2 separate regions of the Homo sapiens genome follow, and region 2 is linked to region 1. Evidence: promoter capture Hi-C in 16 types of primary human blood cells and fetal thymus (Javierre and others, 2016). All regions are on one chromosome and are shown on one strand. Each heading gives the region's core, a stretch centred on a gene start or on the middle of the fragment in contact. The rest is flanking DNA. Distances are from core to core; before and after follow the strand shown. Region 1 holds the start of BRINP3 (BMP/retinoic acid inducible neural specific 3). Region 2 overlaps RGS21 (regulator of G protein signaling 21).

Region 1 (6,751 bases), core at 1,158-3,657:
ACACCAAGCACACGTTCGCTGCAGGGGCTGAGTGCAGAGCCTGAGCTAGCAGGTCAGAGTAGGGGACACCTTTCCTACACGCATGGGTTATTCCCACATCAACACCAAGCCTGGGGCCAGCTGGTCAACCAGGCACCTTGCTCTCCTCCGTTCCCTGAGCTCAGGTGGCATAGGCGTTGCCGTGAGCTGCGGAGAAATCTCCACGCAGAGTCGCCTGTTGATAACCCTCCAGTTAAAACGTTCTTGGCAGCGGGAGCCCCTCAGATGTAAATTTCCCTTTCACACGCTTGAGCTTCAGGTATAATACAGCAAAACGCACTTACCTAAATACTGACTGTCTGTTCCTTACTGGATCTGACTGTACTGAAAGTTTTTTTTTTCTTTTTCTTTTTTTTTTCCTCCCTCCACCCTTGCGCAACAACAGCAGTCCTCCAAAGAGAATGTTTGAATTGAATTATATGAAGCCCTCCTTTCTTCAAATGAAGTCACGGACTCTGATGGCACTGGCTTGTCAGGCAGGACGACCGGACTGGGAAAGAGACCAGGTAGAAACTAGTGACCTAGTGACGGGTGAGGGGCGCCAAGTGGTGCGGACCACAGTCTCAACCCCCGTTCCCTCTCGGTGGGAGTCAAGGGGGAAAAGCCCTTGAATCCCGAGACGGGGGGATGGGGCGACGCTGCAGCTGGAGTACTTTTATGTCTGGGAGCTAAAAGGGCTTTTGAATTTAAAAAAACATTGCTTGGGTTGTCGCGTCAGCCATCAATGACGACAAGAATAGTTATTTCCCAGAAATTAAAAAAAAAAAAAAGGAAAAGAAAAGCGTGAACAATAGGTTCTTACCTCCATGTATCCCAAGAAAAGGAAATGTTGTAGAGACCAGGAACTTGTCCTTAATTTGAGGGCGGGGGGCGGATGTTCAGAGAAAACCCTCAGTGGGTGTTAAAAATTACCGATACATGCAGGTTTGGCATTTAATGAATATCGTGCTTTCCTCATTATGTGTCAATTGTGAAGTAAAAGTAAAGATTAAAATGTTTCTCAACACAACTATACGGAAGAGGAGGTGATAATCTTGTCAGTTAAGTCCATAGAAATGTTCATAAAAGCAAAAGGCACTGACCATATTAACATGCCTATTAAACACAAGGGTTGGGGGCAGACAAGTATGAAGAGTGAGGCAATTAAATTTTTCATGTAAAGTCTATTCTTGAATTTCAATTTATCAGAACCAAGATAATCAGGGGTTTCTTCTGATTGCTCCTCTCTGAAATGAGTACTCTGTGTCCAATTAACTGTTCACCAGCTAATTCACAAAATCAGAAATGTACTGACAAATACTATGCCTGAATTAAAATACAATGCCTAAAATAACGTGCTTATGTGTGATTTGAAATATTTTAAGAAAAAAAAATGGTGCCCTCAAAACTCACAGTCCTCTTCCTACCATTCAGTGGCATTTTAGTGCTTAAGGTCTTGCTAAATTCATAAAAATACACTTTGCAACAAAGTCTTCCTTCAGTCATGTAATTGCTTATCATGAACAAATGCTGACCTGAACAACCTTCTGAATATCCGACTAGCGAACTTTCCAGACCTTGCAATTGTCAGAAGGTCTCTTTTAAGCTCTCTCTTAGATAAACCTATAAAATGTGACATTTCAAATGGCACAGGAATGTGTGCCAAGAAGGGTTAATGGGGGTGGGGGCGATTAATGTCCGTGTAACCCATAATATAAATGAGGACAAATATTTTAAAAATAAAGAAGGTAAAAGATATTGGGGTAATACATGGGATATTGGGGTAATACATTACATGGGTTATGTCTTAGCAGTGCAGTTGCCACTAACATACTAATTAATAAATATGGCCATATGGATCTTTCAGTTCTGAAAGTAACAAAAATGTGAAAAATGAAATACTTCAACAAAACAGAGCTTATTAAAAATAGCAATAGTTAAGTTTCTAGTAACAGATAAAGAGAATAACTTACCAGAGGAAATTTCAGGAAGCAAGAAGACTGTGAGAAAAATACATCCAGGATTCAAATAGATATTCCATGATCTTCCAAATCAAGGTAAAGTAGTGAGCTGCAGGGTAGTAGGACTTTAAAATAATCAGCAGTTCCTGGTGGCATGTAACCAAGTAAAAACCAGTTACACAGAGAGCCACGAACCCCCAAGGCAAGAAAGCAGAATGTGAAAATGCTTTATATGGGGGGGTGGGGAATGGTGGGGGGTGATTCGTGGTGATCCTTAAGCAAAGTGAAAATTTACAGGCTGCACATCCCCATACAGTGGGGAAAGGCAGAAGCTGTGTAACCCCAGAGAACAGGAGGTGGAATACAGATAAATCTGCAAAGAGAAGTAAAAGGATGTGTTGAAGACAACGAGATAAAGAGAGAACTAGTGAGCAAGGCTGTAGTCATCCTGATAGATATAGCAGCAAGAATGATTTAGGCTGCTGGGGAGGATCCAATGAGAATTCAAGAGGGCACCACTTCGGAAATCCTGCTCTGATCTTCCCACTCTCAGTTCTTTAAGAGTTACCTGCGTTGGGACCATTATCATTAGGATTAATAGTATTCCATCAGTGCATTTCACTAGTATTTCCCTTGAACATTTTCACTTGCAGCAACTGAGGGAGGCGTAGTAAGGAAGCCCAACACAACCAATTCCCCCACTCCCCAAATAAACCACTACGACCGGTCACATTACGATGACCAAATCATCAGCGATTTGCACGAGGCGGTGGGGGGTGGGGGGTGCGGGCGGTGATCGAAGGGCTGAAGATGCGGAGGAGGCCGAGTCGCTAGGCGCTTTCGGGGGCGCTGTGCCGGTGAGGCTTAGGCAAGGGGACGGGGAACCGTGGTTAGATGCAGCAGCGGCGGCAGCAGCCCTCCCAGGTCCCACTTCTTTGGCGTTCCTGCTGCCTGTGACTCAAGACAATTGACTTCCACCTGAACCCTCAGCTCCGAACGCCTTGCATTAGAAGCTAGAGCTTTGGAGGTTCTGAGGACGGTCCCTGGGGAGCAAGTGGTAGGTTTCGAGGCGCCCGCTTCCCCTCTGATTCCTGCAGTAACTGAGAGAGAGTGTGCCAGAAATGGCTTTGCTGCCGAATGCATTATCTTGCCATTTTCGTGTCCCAATACTGAACAAACGATCGCCTGATCGATCGGTAAGATTAGCTTTATTCCTTCTCCCTATTCCTCTCCTTGGCCCCATTCCCTCTGCAAGTCCAAACCCCAGTCTCTCTCTCTCTCTCTCTCTCCCTCCCTCTCTCTCTCTCTCTCTCTCTCTCCAGGAACTTCTTCCTCTTTGAAACCGGTTTCCCAAGGGAACTGCCTGTGTGACTGAGAGGCTAGTAATCTGTTTGTAGATGATTTATATTTTGGCTGCAGAATGAATCCCCCTCCCTACTCGGAGTACTCTCCTTAGAGATGATCCCCCGCCCCCTCCCCATGGGTTCGCTCTCAGAGCTGGGATCTGTATAAAGAGCGCTGTGGGAGTCTTTTGCCCTCCGCTCTAGCTCTATCTTCCTCCGGACCCCGAAGCTTAAGAATTATCCGCCTCACTCTCTTTTTTAGAAATAGGAGGGAAAGGTAGAGTGGAAATTGATTTCTTGCAGAGACTGAGGCGCTGAATGATAGAGGGAATAAACATTTGCCCTGGATAAAAATGTTCTTGGTAAGTAATCTTATTTTCTGCGGTTGAAAAAGAAACAGATTGCTTCTCACTGCCCCATCCCCCACTCCATTCATTTATTTGCTCTCTGTATGTAAATCACGAGCTGGGTCAGTGGAAATTTTTTTTTCCTCTTCCCTAGGAGAGTAGTAGCTTGTAAGGGTGAAATTGAAGTAGAGGGTTTTAAGGAGACAATATGAACGCTTTAAGGTCCTTTATATCCTGCATTAAAAACTCAAAGACAGATAAAGCAGTTAAATCCCTGTTTGTTTCCAAAAGTGGTATTTAAGTATTTCCCTTATTTCCTACTAACTGTCTTTCCTTTCTGAAAATAAAGAAAAGAGTTTTAGGTAGTGGGCTCATGTCTATGCTTTTAGTATGTCTTGGCCATGTTCTGAAATACAATTTCAGTTCCAAAATTAAGAATGGTTATTTTTCACATTTCGCAGGTATATTAAAGCTATAGAAACCACTTATTAAATGTGCATCTCGGTTCCAATTATTGCACCAGATACAAATTAGTAGTATCCACAATGGCATATTGTGGTGGTACTACAAATTCATAAAGCCCTCTGGTTTTCCATGAGTCTCTAGCACCCCCAGCCTGTGCACGCTCACAATGTGAAGAGTGGATTGGTGTAGCAGTAGGGAAGAAGCCAAACGGCTCTTGATTGTGCTTACATCATATGTCATTAAGTGTAGAGAATAACATGTTTTGCAAATTGTGTGAACTTGGTTTTCAAGAGTAAGCTGACCATTTTTGATGCACAAAATTAAGGGAGATTTGCTCTCAGAAAAATCATTGCATTTTTAATTATAAAATATATTTTACTGGTAAAACATTTAAATTAAACTTTCTTGTCTATTGTTATTATCCTACTGCAATTTATTATCCTCTAAATTTAATGACAAAGAATAAGCTAATTGGCACAAAATGCATTCCTGATGAAAACAGGATGACTGAAAAATCATCTGAAATGTATAATACTAAAATGTTATTGGTAAGATAAACTTCATTTTAGAAAATCAGTATTCTAGAAATCAGTAGTATAAAATTTCAGAAGAGAGGTAGTCAAGTGGCATATTGCAAGACAAAATATGTTTGTTCTCAACTATCTATATAGTCTTTATAGCCATCAACATTTGCAAGAGAAAAAAAATTCACTAAGGGCATGTTGGTATAACACTTTTTTCTTTCTCTCCTCAGGCTGTTGTCCAGCTCTAATGATGTCCTAGAGCAGAAGTGTTTCTTCTGATGTCTCATTTTAACAAGAGGATGATGTCTGTGTATGTCTCTGTGTTTTAGAGAGGCTGGCAAATGCTGCTAAGAGGATCTGAGGTTCACATAAAGAGGATGAAAATTCTGAATTACTTTCATTGCAAATAAACCTTAACAATTGTGAGAGTTAGAGAGCATACTTTTCACATAAGACTTTGGTATGCTGCCTAAAGCTACTTACATAATTTGCTATTCAGAGAAATGCATTTGTTTATTGAGGACCCACCCGGACTTAAATTGGAAAAATGTAACATTCAGATTTTTATTTTATATGTGAAATAAATGTGTGATTGCTGTTCTTAAAAATTTGAAAAAAAAAGGATAACAAGAATATTAATTTTGTGACCCATAGTTCATGAACTTTAAAAGTGTTTACAGCATTTAAAGTTTATTTAACAATTTAAGTATTTGAGCACTATACTAATTCATATGGTTACATTTGATCAACTCCTTCATGAAGCCATAGGCTTTATATCTCCTAGCTGCCTTTTACCTTCAGAACAAATCTGGTTTATACTTAGATTGCTCCAAAAGTTATGCATTTTAATTTTATGTTGAAAATGTCTTTCTTAGATAATCACGGTGCATATTTGCAGCTAATACTTTAGTATATTTTATATTATTGGTAATGCTTTTGTTAGCCATCCTGGTGCTGCCTTCTTATAAGAGCTATGTATGAGAACCAACTAATATATTTCTTTTTTTTTTTTTTCTTTTTCTTACCTATTAACCCACTAAAATTTCTAATCTAAAAGCAATATTCAAGTTACATTTTATTACAGAAATTGGAAAGCAATTTGCCTGGGAAGCAAAATGTTGATATGATTCAGGTGATTTTAACATTAAATCTAACTTGTAACAAAAACGGATTATATAAAGATAAATAAATTGAGACTATTATTTGCATAGCAAAGAAAGTCAAACATGACCCACACATTTATGCACATATAATTAATTTCAATAAAATGTTTATATTTATTCATTTTCATCTCTGCTATGTTTGCTTTTAGAGTTTTCTCTTTGAAAGAGTCTAAAGTTTTAAAAATACCTGTGTATGCAGGAATCTTCACATTTTATTTTGTAAGATCAATAATGCTGCTAAATAAACTGGGGCTAATGTGTTCAAGTCTCATAAAAAGTGTGTTGGAACTTGAATGGACATTAAGGAACATTTAATCTTATCACTCATGATGATGAAGAAGTTAAGAACCAGAGAGGTTAAATGATTAGTGTAATCATACACTAACTAATAACCTAAGGAACTTTAAATGCAGGTTTATTAACTTCTTAGCTAGTGTTCATTCTATATTAGTTACATTCTATTACTAAGACAGGCATTGTTTGAGAGGGGGCCTAGGAAATAAGTGAAAGGAAGAGAAAGTAGTACAAAGATGAATAAATAGTAGCCAGTCTTTTTAGAGTCCATTTTGTTGATAACTAATACTCTTTATTGTAGAAAACTTTTATTCCCCTGCTTTATTTTATCCTCCACTCCGCCGCCTTCCCATGATTGGAGATTTCATGTAATTTACCTTTGCAGAAAATATCTTCAGTATTCTTAGACATAGTGCGGTGGCTCGCACCTGTAATCCCAGCACTTTGGGAGGCCGAGGCGGGCGGGCAAATCACGAGGTCAGGAGATGGAGATCATCCTGGCCAACATGGTGAAAACCTGTCTCTACTAAAAATACAAAATTTTTCTGGGTGTGGTGGCACGTGCCTGTAGTCCTAGCTACTCAGGAGGTTGAGGAGAATCGCTTGAGCCAGGGAGTCGGAGGTTGCAGTGAACCA
Region 2 (6,649 bases), core at 2,694-5,193, 1.9 Mb after region 1:
AGGAGACTATCTCTTTCCCTGCCTTTTTCAGCTTCTAGAGGCCACCTACGTTCCTTGGCTCTTAACCCCTTTCTCACATCACTCCAACATCTTGTTTTCATCCTGAAATATCCTACTACTAGACGTTAACCCTCCTTTCTCCCCTCTTAAAAGGTCCCTTATAATTACACCCCATCCCCCAGGATAATCTAGGATAATCAGCTTCTCTTTTGTCACATAAAGTAATATATTTACATGTTCCAGGCATTAGGACACAGACATCTTTTCAGGGAGGGTTGTATACTTAGCTTATTACACTGTGCATAAGTTCTGATAATGGAGCCTAAACCCACTGGACCAAAAGCTGACGGTATTTAGATGTCCCAACAGTATCTATATGGCAATCCTTTGTCAAGATACATTGAATGCTATAAAGCATCATTCAGCCTAATAAGAAAGCTTATTTCCTCACCTGCTCATTGTATTATGAGGCTTCATTTTGATAAATAAAATCCAATTATTAGTTTTTTCTAAACAATGAAGATTGAAAGGAATGGAAAGTGCACATTAAACAATAATTGTGGTTTGTGGAAGGATTTATGAGAAAAAGCATGCTTGCAATTGCACTAAACTCAAAATAGAAATTTAAATTTTTGTTTTAACATTTTAATGTAAAATAAGCCTATTCCTGGCTCCTATTTCTTAAAGACTTTGCATGGTTCTTTTTTTTTTTTTTTAACCAAGAGGGTCTTTAAATTTTGACAGTGTATTTTCCAAACTGTACTATTTTCAAGCATATATTATAAAATTAATACTTCATTATCCCCCCTGAGCAAAACAAAAAGTGAAAATATGTTTAATGATTCAGTTTTTGCTTATCCTAAGAACATTACTTAATGGTGCTTGAATTAACAAAAGGGATCGTGCTGATTGATGATTTCCCTTCTTAATGATACACCGACTTTTTAGGTCATTTCTTCTACTTCTCTCAGTTTCATTAGTCCAGGGCCACTGATACTAACCATTTCTATAGATCAACTAGGGCATTTCCACGGTAAGTCAAGGAGAAGAACATTTTTTACCTTCTTTTGACTGCTTTCTTTCTCCCACCTGAAAAATTGTCAATCTTTCAAGAGTTTTTAATTGACATTGAGGGTCATAAACACATACCAGTTGAATTTTACTACCAAAGAACTGTATTACATTGAGATAAAAGCTTGACAAAGCATGAAGTTATAAAACTTTAACTATAATTAAAATTGCCAATATATGGTCTTTGTTTTGATAAATATATTAGCCTTATTACATTAAACATCATATTGCATAAAGAAATATTGGCATAAAATGACTTGAGATCCATGGTTAAAAGAGAGAAATGTATGTTATTAAGCAATAAAAACTGCATAAATTTCAAAGAAAACTGCAATGTCTTATATTAGAACATTTTAGTTCATGAATAAAATTGCTTAAATAGTTAAACATATATAGTTGTTTAAGATAAGTATACTAAAGGTAGAGCCCTCCTCAGATTCTCTGAAAATCAAAGAACAAAGGAAAACAAAATGATCTCTTAGGCAGATTAAAGACTTAAAGGTGAATATTAATTATAAATATGTATATTTATAATATGTATATCATTATATATTGGTTTAACCTCCTGTGAACAATAGTTGTCTTGCAAACAGATGAATATGAACTTCAGAAAAAACTTTCAGATGGAATTTATTTCAATTATGCCACAGACTCAGAGAAATGTCACATTTATTCAAAGAGTTATTTATTACTTAGAAGTTTAAGTGTTTTGACCAATGAAAAGTTAATAACAAAAATAAAAAAGCTGAGAATAGCAGAATTTAAAGAATGCCAATTTGTAACCCAGGGGATAGGTATTCGCATACTAATTGTAATGTTCCTGCTGTCACATTACCTTCAGCTTGAAGATCAGTCAGAAAGAGAAACTCGGCATCATCTGTGACAGACAGTGGAACGAAAAATGCCAGTGAAGTGAGTTGCCGTTTCCAGCTATTTTTATCTCAGAAGATGTACAAATGAAACACTTGAGTCTTCTTTTAGTCTCGATGTTTTATTTCCTTCATTTATGATAAATACGCTAATTGTTGTCTTCCTGATTTTTTCTCCTTTCTCTACTGATTTCTTCTTTTTGAAAACATGTCAAGAATTTGTGGCTTACTTTTGCACTTTATTCTTCATGTGGGCTAAAGAAAGGTTATAAAGTGGAGATAGACCACTGAACTTTATGTTTTTTTTAAATTATGAGATGAATTAGAGACATAACATATACATGATTCTTGCAAAAATTATCACAACGTTTATTGAAAAAATTTTACATGGATATTAAATGCTGGGTAAGGAAGCAGCTGTCACTTCCTGGAGCACATGGACTCCTTGCTTGAGTTTTCCATTCTCCAGCACACTGCTAATTGAGTGTGAACAGCTAAGTTGTTGGATTCCACATTTTTTAATGCAATACAACTGGTTCTAGCTGGCATAATTAGCAAGATAACTGGTTGCTTTCACGCAGTTCCCATCTGGCCTGGCTCTTCTCTGGACATATAATATGGGTACTGCTGGCCTTGATGGCACTTGCTTAATGAAGAAAATAGAAAGGAAATCAGCCAAAACCGCATGAAATACTAAGTGTAATTTTGGCTTCAGATACACAGTGACTTTTCATGGCAAATCATACACAAACAAAAACTTACTCTGATTATGCATCACAATTTTACAGGAAATAAACACAGAAATGAAAAGAGCCAGACAAAACTGCTGTTAAAATTCAATAAAAGGAAGAAAAAAAGAAATGAGGGAGTGGCCATTGTCCATTTTTTCAGATAGCACATATCAAGTAAAAGTCAACCAAGTCAGTAGAGTTTAAAATCAACCATCCTCTTTTTTCTCCAACTTTTATTCAATAGATTTCTTTCTTAACATTTATATAGTTACATTTTTTAAAAACAGAAGATGATATTTCTTACTCCCATCTACCATAAGAAATGCCCTATTTTTATTTGATAGTGTACAAGCTTTAAGAATTCATGAATAATATTGTTCATGAATTCTTAAATTCTGTTTCGTGTAAGCTTTCAGTTGAGCAGCCAGTTACCACAATTTTAACTATTATTTAGAGGAATTATAGTATTTCTATGAAATATGATAAATCTCTATTGCAGGAAAAAAACACTTTTTAGGTAGTTATTATAAATGTTCCAAAACATGAATAAAGTACAAATATATATGTATTAACTCATCCATTTAAGAAGTATGAAATAACTTGGGTTAAAGCAGACAAACTTGTGTTTCAATTCTAACTCTGGCCATTACTGTCTGTGGAATATTGCACTACTTATTTGTATCTCTGACCCTCTTTACTCTTTGGTAATATTGGAATAAAACAGACTGTTATTTTCAAGATTAAATGAAGTCTATGATATGCGTAGCACAATGTGGTATGCATTGTAAACATCCAATACATAGTTGTGCATTTTAGTGCTATTATAAATATTGTATTTCAGTTTATTCATAGATACCATCAATTTGCTCTTTCACAGAATTACAAGAAACTCCAAAATTTACAAATTTAACTGGCAACAAACAAGCATTACTCCTTAAAATAGTTACACTTCACCTAATTTCTGAAAAGTAAATGCTATGTTACCTCCAACTCTTTCAACATCTCAGATAGTCAAAATTTAACCTTCTGGATAAGAAATAGGCTATAAAGGAATGAGCTGAGGGTATTCCAGGCATTGCTACACACCAGCAGAGGTACTCCTTCAGAGCCGATGGGCAATTTTTTTCTCCTAAAAACAATGTCAGCATTTTGTGGACCTTGATTAATACTAGGATATACCCATATAACTAATTCTATTATCCATAGTATTCCATGTCTTTATCTATAAAATATCTGTAACATTTTAGCATCCCTCTGTAATTCAAAACATTAGGAATTTTTCTTTTATCCTTGGTTCTACACCATCTCCCACACTTTGCTTTCTTTCTCTTACTGTTTCTCTACATTAATGAAGATGATACAAATAGCTATTATTTATGTAAACACCTTCATTCTATAAATACTCCTTTATATCCAAAAAGATTTCAAGAAATATGCCTTTTTGCTTTTGGATTAAGTAAAACCTGTCTGTCCTTAAAGGACACTGCCTTCTAGAATGGATGTCAGCTATTCTCTCCAACCTCACATACCTCAGAGTTGAGAATGAGGTCCATGATGATTCAGTGACGTTTTCACATTATTTTTCATCTTCTCTTTCCCAGAACACTCTATGCCTTTGAAGCTAATACAATTTAGCTACACTTTTCAATACTTTTTATCACTGTAATTTATCAGCATCTTGAAGGCCATTTACCCTCTTCCATTGAAGGCTTTAATATGTGTCAATATTTGGGGTTTGGTCATCCATTATTTATTTGTTAATATGTTCAATATTTCATAGACCAGGCACACTGTTCTTGGTGCTAGAAAATAACATTTAGTCCTGTCATCAGATGACTTACATACTAATGGGAATATAAATGTTCATCTTTGAATGAATTTGTCTAGATTTTATTTTTCAGTTTTTCCTGGCTGCCTGTTCCTCATTCAAAATGGGCATTCTGCATGGCCAGGTTCCTCTCTATCCTATTCATTAGCATATGTTCCACAGGTCTAAGTAGCTTTAATTTGAATACCCTGCTAGCAGCCAAATTTTAGTATACAAACAGGAATATTTTTAAGCATGTGTATTTTAAATGATCGTATAACTTTAGAATTCCTACAAGTTCTAATATTTGAGTTATATGAAATATAACATAAGCTTATTTGAGTAACAGGTTATAGAGTACACAAAATATCTTCAATGTAAAATTAAATCTAGCATTGTGTCTCAACCTCCATTTATGAAAGACAGAAACTGAACAACTCAATTTTTGTGTCTATTTGAATGAAAAAAAACACCATTTCCAAATGGTTTCACAGGTAATCTGTGTCCCCAAGATTTAGTAAGTCAAGGAAGAAAGGAAAGTCAGCTGCCTACAACAGGAGAAGGAAATTTTAGATTGGAAATGTGAGTAATGGAAAATAGTAAAATGAATTCTTAGCTACAGTGTCCTCTCTATGTGTCCTTAATGAGGATGACCATTATTAACTGAAGATGCAACTACAACTGCATCAGTAGAGGAAGTACAATCAATCCTAGCAAAAACTATAAAAACTGCAGCAAATTACAGGAAGTAATACAAAAGCATAGGAATCACTTCACACTAGTATGTTTAAGATTAGTTATCTTGCCGTGCAAATACAAAAGTTTTATAAGAATTGCGATATATGAGTTTTTCTCTATTTTATTATTGGTAATTTCAATACAAACTTTAAATTGGACCCTCTCTTTCCATAACTAAGTCATTTGCACATCACAGCTACATAATCCAACGTGGTTTTATTTCTGGGCAGCAGATGCTTTCTATGAATAGGGGCTTATTTCATCAGGATCTTTGTTTATTAAGAGGAGTAATGTATGATATATTTGCATCTCAGAAAGTTTATATCTTAAACCTGATTTATGATTTCTACATCACATCCCCAAAAGTAACCTTCTTCAGAAGACTTAAGTCTATAAATTTTTGACTGCTTTGGAAAAGATATTACTCTGTCTTGACAGATTCCTAGATTTAAATAAATCAGCTCAGAACTAGAAGTATACCAGTCTAAAGAGAAATAAAGGCTGCCTCAGAGTAGGTAAAGACGTTTTGAAATATTACGAACAAAATGTTTTCAAGTTCATCACATGCTAGAAATTCTTAAAACTTTTTTGAACTCTTTTGAGATGCATAATTATGACATAATCTTTACACTATAAAAATTTAGAAAATAGTTTATTCATCACCATTGCTATCATAACTTTTTGGCTAGAGTAATGTCACATAAATTAACAAATAATATACTCATAGTTGAAAAGAAATTCACCATTGATCCACAGAACCGATATCTTTTATGCCTTTATTAGAATTTAAGAAGCCTCAAATATTCTTAAGACTGTCAGCTAGATTAATAAATAATTTGCTGATGTCAAATTACATCCCACTTTATGTCACTATAGCTAACTACTGTAAATAGCATTGTATAATTTTTTGACATTTGGCTGTTTGATTAACAGCATGAAGTTCATTTGAATGATGTAACTCAAAATACATGTAACTCGAATATTACTATTGGTTAAAGAAGAAAAAGATCACAATGCTATTGTCAAGGTTAGATGCTGTTTCTACAGGTCACCAACTGCGGAAACAATGACATGGTCTGAAAATATGGACACGCTTTTAGCCAACCAAGGTAAGATTTAACTAATAATAGGCTTAAAATACAATAATTAAATATAAATTATTAAATTCTGAAAGTTGGTAACATATCATAAAGTATGAGTTTAATCAATGAAGTATAAAATTATTAATAATCATAAATTCATAAAAATCCAAAATCTAAATAGAATCAGGTTGGGGCTAAAATAAGTTTATAGGTTAACTCTGTACATTAAAACAAAAGGGAAATTCAATCTAGCAAGTGAAATTTTCCATTGCCTTAGACTCACTTTAACATTTTTTATTATTTTTTATTTTAATACAGAGTCTCACTCTCTCTCTCTATCAGGCTGGAGTG

Evidence for each region. Contacts are between HindIII fragments. The CHiCAGO score rates a contact against its expected background, and 5 or more counts as called.
Region 2: a fragment that was not itself captured here is called in contact with the fragment with the promoter of BRINP3 in region 1 in 1 of 17 cell types (M1 macrophages); the score reaches 5.8 in M1 macrophages.

Annotation. Positions count from the first base shown.
Region 1 is chr1:190,475,457-190,482,207 of GRCh38, forward strand. BRINP3 (BMP/retinoic acid inducible neural specific 3) reads right to left here and starts at 2,408. Exons shown (of 8, transcript NM_199051.3): 1 at 1,992-2,408. BRINP3-DT (BRINP3 divergent transcript) reads left to right here and starts at 2,804. Exons shown (of 3, transcript NR_110716.1): 1 at 2,804-3,036; 2 at 3,626-3,684; 3 at 4,889-5,938. The HindIII fragment of the contact is 5,146 bases long and covers 1-3,549 here.
Region 2 is chr1:192,341,065-192,347,713 of GRCh38, forward strand. It overlaps RGS21 (regulator of G protein signaling 21), which reads left to right. Exons shown (of 5, transcript NM_001039152.3): 2 at 1,913-1,983; 3 at 6,249-6,325. The coding sequence starts at 1,973. LOC124904473 (a long non-coding RNA gene) reads right to left here. Exons shown (of 2, transcript XR_007066775.1): 2 at 2,295-2,586. Among named protein-coding and RNA genes, the nearest start is that of RGS21, 27 kb to the left of the region's middle. The HindIII fragment of the contact is 1,731 bases long and covers 3,079-4,809 here.